Regions from separate parts of the Homo sapiens genome. Here region 2 is linked to region 1. The links are contacts of gene promoters, found by promoter capture Hi-C in blood cells and fetal thymus (Javierre and others, 2016). All regions are on one chromosome and are shown on one strand. Each heading gives the region's core, a stretch centred on a gene start or on the middle of the fragment in contact. The rest is flanking DNA. Distances are from core to core; before and after follow the strand shown. Region 1 holds the start of TMEM212 (transmembrane protein 212). Region 2 holds the start of LOC105374217 (a long non-coding RNA gene).

Region 1 (2,700 bases), core at 4-2,503:
TAACAAGAGTAACTTTCTGAACATCTTCGTTATGCTAAACTCTGGGCTAGGCATTTATGGTTTTAGCTCATTTAATCCTCTCAACCAAATCCATTAAAGATAAACACTAACTTTTATTCCCATTTCGCATACGAATAAATAGACCTAGAGAAGTTAAGTAACTTGCCCTTACTCAAGGACACAAACCTGGTAGAGAGTGGAACCAGAATCGGATCACAGCTCCATCTGACTCAAAATCGATGTCCTAAACCACTTCATTTGCATTCATAAAATTATTTTTCATCCTTTTATTTCAGTAAAAAGGAATAATGTATTAATGTTAAATAGGAAAATTATTCAGATGGCTTCAGAAACTGACCTGTGTTTTTAAGATATTTTTTTGAACAGACATCCACATATATCCAATCAGTCAAAATCAAATAACACCATTTTCTCAAATGCATGAAAAAGTAAGAGATGACTTGTAACTGCCTAAATGTACCTAAGTTCAATATCTCAAATTAGAATTATGATTCAAGAATGAATGGGGATCAGCATTTTATTCAACTGATGAATTGCTCCTCAAAGTTTATTTTATTTTATAACTGCATACATTTCCATCATCACACTTTAATTGAAAATTAAATTAATAGTAAAATAAGGTGAAACTGGTTTAGTGAAAACAATGCAAAACTCCATAATAAAGTTCATGCCCATTTGGGAATGAATCCATATCAAAAATCTTTATCAAAAATAATTGTAGTGGAATTAAACTTTGAAAGGAGGTGAAGGTCTTGCTTTGGGTTGAAATCATTTAAATTAAATATAATGAAAAGTGACCAGGGTGCTTATTTTTACTTTGTTTTGTGGGAAATTGTGCTGGGAATGTGGATCTATTGTACACAAAGGATGTTGGCTTTATGCTGGAACCACTAGGCAGGTTGAGTTGAGAAACAATTAGCTCAGTCAGCAAGCCTTTGAATCTGATTAAGCCAGGAAGTGGTCACTCCCCAGGACAGGGCAGAATGAAGGGAATCAAGGCAGCAATCCAAAGCAAGGGATAATTTTTTTCTCTCTTTCTCTTAAATAAATTGTTATTAGAATTTATTGTGTCAAATTTATGCCAAGGACTATTTGAGTACATTTCATCTTTGGTAAAACAAATAGAATCTTGTTTCCAAGTAGATCAACAGTTCGTATGTGTCGTGGCTACTGTCTCTAAGAAACTTCTATTTACTGAGGCCTGTCATACGCTCATGTTTTGGTAACAAAACATCTTTGAGACCAAGGCCTCAAGCCACCAAGGAAAATGAAGGGCCTCTACCAGGCTGCTGGCCGGATTCTTGTTACTCTGGGGATCCTCAGTGTATGCTCTGGAGTTATTGCTTTCTTTCCTGTCTTTTCTTACAAGCCTTGGTTCACAGGATGGAGTGTTCGAATTGCTTGTCCTATCTGGAATGGAGCTTTGGTATGAAAATAGTTTATTAAATATATTGAGAAAATAAAAGAAGGTGGGAGGGAAAGGGAAAACAGAAGAACATATCCTTTTAAATTGTTCTAACAATACAAAGAAGTCAAAATTCCACAAAAAATCAGAATCCGCCTTGGAACATTGATTTCTATTAATTGCATTTTAAGTATAAAAATGATCTTAATATTGTTTTATCATGTATACATGTATATTATGTATTTTTAATGACATGCTGCTCAAGAAATTCTTAAAAAGTTATTTTATTTTAATCCACTTAACTTGATATGCTAAGAAATTAGAATCTTTTGAAATGTGAATTTTGAATTTAGAAAAAAACATAAACCTTGAAAAGTAATTTTAAAATACAGAACAAAGTAAAATAATTTTCAAACTAATGCTTTCATTGCAAACACTAAGATGTACATGGCCCCAAAATTTACAAACCCCAAATATTTGTTTTTCCACCTTTCTCTTGCAAGCAACTGTTTGAACTGAAAATAACTCAATAATTTTCAATTATTTGAAAATAATTCAAATAATTCAATAATTCAAGATGGACTTCACAATTCACTAGGAAAGTACATGTGCCAAGTACAGCGTACGACACTAAGTAGTACTCCGTGTGCGCTCATTGAATCATTGCACAGATAAACGATTGGCCTGGTCCCTTAGCTCTCCAACCAAAAAAAAATGGGCACATCTAGTCTTGGGAGTAACTGGCTTCCATGCTGGTATGATTTAAGAGAAGTTACAGAGACCCACCTGTCCAACAAATCCTTCTCTCATTGATTCCTGTGACGCCTGACACTACTGGAGACTGGAGAATTCAATATTGAAGCTTTTTGATCTTAAGGAATCTTCTATTAAAATGTAGCCACTTGGCCGGGCATGGTGGCTCACGCTTGTAATCCCAGCACTTTGGGAAGCCAAGGGGAGCGGATCACGAGGTCAGGAGTTCGAGACCAGCCTGACCAACATGGCGAAACCCCGTCACTACTAAAAATACAAAAATTAGCTAGGCGTGGTGGCATGCACCTGTAATCCCAGCTACTCAGGAGACTGAGGCAGGAGAATCACATGAACCTGGGAGGCAGAGTTTGCAGTGAGCCGAGATCATACCACTGCACTCCAGCCTGGGTGACAGAGCAAGACTCCATCTCAAAACAAACAAACAAAATGTAGCCACTGTTGTGTGAGATAGTATCTTAAATCTTTAAAAAGTTAAAACTTTAACTGAGATACCACCTAAA
Region 2 (2,700 bases), core at 25-2,524, 97 kb after region 1:
AGTAGAGACAGGGTTTCACCATGTTGGCCAGGGTGGTCTCGAATGCCTGACCTCAGGTGATCCGCCCACCTCGGCCTCCCAAAGTGCCGGGATTACAGGCTTGAACCATGGCACTCGGCCTGGATTGAGATTTTCTTAATAGTCCTAGATGCTCTTTGAAATGTTCCACTGCTATCTCTGGCATGATATTATAGGTGTTCCTGCCTGGCACACTGCAGAAACCTGAGGTTGGGAGGCTTGTTAGCTGAAACATGTATTGATCTTATATGTATGAATCATTTCCAGTCGGACTCACTAGCCTGAGATTCCCTGGGGTGTGTGTGCACATGCAAGCACACTTACATGTGCAAGACTCAACCCCAAGTCTGAATTACACACGAGTGACAAAGGGAATGCGTCTCCAATTCACCTCTAACTGCTAAGCTCTCTCTCTCCTGTTCTCTTTTTATGCAGCACCCATGGACCCTTCTAGCAGACAGCAACTTTTCTCTTTGACTATAAATTGAAGGCAATTCAATGTTTTACCCCTCAGATCAGGGATCATACTGAAAAATTCCTTCTGCACGAGCCAGTGTGAGCCTGGCAAGAGGCACAGGAGATGGTCACCAAGCTTGATAACGAAAATAAATTGTTTTGAAGAGATCGTTAAAATTATGTTAGTAGGAATTGAATATTCAAGGTTACAGATTTAATTAATTATGAGTGTTTCTTTAGAATAATGTAATAAATGTTTCCTCTGAGGTTTCTGGTTGAAGCACTGGGCCTCATCTCAAGAAAGATTTAAGAGCATAAAGTATTTTAATTGTATAGATTGCAAGAGAGGGCATTTAAAATATGCAGAGTAATTGACACCTTCTCAAACCCCAGATGCAACCCTATTTCTAACTGATAAGGTGATATCCTGGAGCCTCCATACAAGAAGTAGTTTTGCCCAACAAATGGGAGAAGCCCCTTTGACAGCGTGAAATTCCAGTCACGGTGATGTAGCTCTAAGGAATCCCAGGTGAGCCCATTCTCTCACAGCCTGAAAGCAGAACATGCAGCAATGAAAATGTCCAATGCAGCTAGGACTTTTGTCACTCCATCTTTCTCTTTCTGCCTCATCTGAAGGGTAAATGACTTTGTGTTGTGTAAAAACATTTCACACCCCCTGTAAGAAGTGGGAATAAGGAGGCATGGGTAGCAGCAGTGAAGAGGTTTGAATGTCATTCTTTCTCATTTGAATAACTACCTTAAGAGTCCCCTTCTGTAGGAGTTAAGACCTCAAGTTTTATACAAAAGAGCCTTGGTCTGCATGCGATGTCCTCCCAGGCTTAGTTCACATTTTAAGAAAACTTCAGGGTGAGTGTAATTCTTACTATAAAGGAATGAACCAATACTAGTTGAATCTTAGGCACCCGAACAGGCAGTTTGAGAAAGTTGGGTATGATTTCCCTGGCTCCTTTCAAGTCACACCACAAGCAACTGCCTGGCACACAAGACAGACCTCTGTGCATACAGATGCATGTGTGGTGTGTAGTGGGAAGTTTGCTTTGGCTGGTCGTGGAGGGATCCATTTGTCTGGGGAGGTCTGGACAGCCAGTGGAGGCACTGCCTCCCTTGCCATCTTAGCAGCTTTAAGAGGGTGGAGTATTTTTCTTTGAGGCTAAGGTTGGCACAGATAACTTCCTCACCGAAATTTTCTGCCAGACTGAGTTTGGTGGGTTTTTTTTGGTTTGTTTTTTTGTTTTTTTGTTTTTTTTTCATTATTCCACCCACCCCTCACCCCACCCTCCAATCTTTGGTTGTTTCTGGCTTTTTGGCATCTGTTCCCTGGGTCGTATTTTTTCCTTCCTGATGCAGTGGATGCAAAGATACGCTTTCTCTTGGGTGAAATTTACAAGCACATTTTCCTCCTTGACAGAAACAAAGAGCCACAAAGATTTCCTAGGGAGAGAAAAAAGCTTCCAGATGCAGGGCTCCAAATGTGAGGGTTTTTTTCCCTTTGGCATTTTTTAAGCTTAATAATTACACTGGACATATTTATTCAGAAGAAGGCCCACAGTTTTCATCCTAACAGGGACTTCATTAAAATTTCCAAGTAACAAATACATCTTTTCTCTGATGCCTGGGTTCCATGCCATTTACCTCTATCTTAAAGAAGTTACCTCTGAGACCTTGAGTTTCAACTCTGACTAGAGATGCAAGGCGATAGGGAAAGGTCCTTTTTTCCTCTCTTTTTTCTTAGCCATGGTGCAGAATAATAAAAGAAAAGGAATTCCTAAACTCTTGAACTGTTAGCAAACTTCTTTTAATTATCTCTAGTTAAAGGGCAACTGAGAAGACAATTATAAATGTCAAGAAGATTGTTCAACAAACTTTTATAACCCACAGCACACTTTTATATTTTTAAAAGTGATTAAAGCGTTCTAATTGGTATCATTTTCTATTTCAGAATAGTACTTTCCAAGACTTAAAAAAATGCTTCAGTTTATAAGACCTGTAATCTAAAATTTTCACTAACCATAATCAGAATAATGTATGGGAAATACTTAGTTCATATATGGAAAATCATCCACATTTTAAAAAAAAGTTTTGAAGAAACTTTTTAAAAAGTTGTAGCTACTTATGTTTGATTAGAAAAACATTTCTCTTGTGTGTGTTGGTAAAACAGACTAAGTTCTAAGAAATCTTTATGGCTATATATCTTACATCTATTGA

Evidence for each region. The method cuts DNA at HindIII sites, captures the fragments that hold promoters and counts their contacts. A CHiCAGO score of 5 or more calls a contact.
Region 2: a contact is called between a fragment that was not itself captured here and the fragment with the promoter of TMEM212 in region 1, in 1 of 17 cell types (M0 macrophages). The highest score is 5.6, in M0 macrophages.

The regions. Positions count from the first base shown.
Region 1 is chr3:171,842,096-171,844,795 of GRCh38, forward strand. TMEM212 (transmembrane protein 212) reads left to right here and starts at 1,254. Exons shown (of 5, transcript NM_001164436.2): 1 at 1,254-1,447. The coding sequence starts at 1,289. The HindIII fragment of the contact is 2,451 bases long and covers 1-2,286 here.
Region 2 is chr3:171,938,804-171,941,503 of GRCh38, forward strand. It overlaps LOC105374217 (a long non-coding RNA gene), which reads left to right and starts at 86. Exons shown (of 4, transcript XR_924718.4): 1 at 86-2,700. The HindIII fragment of the contact is 1,333 bases long and covers 609-1,941 here.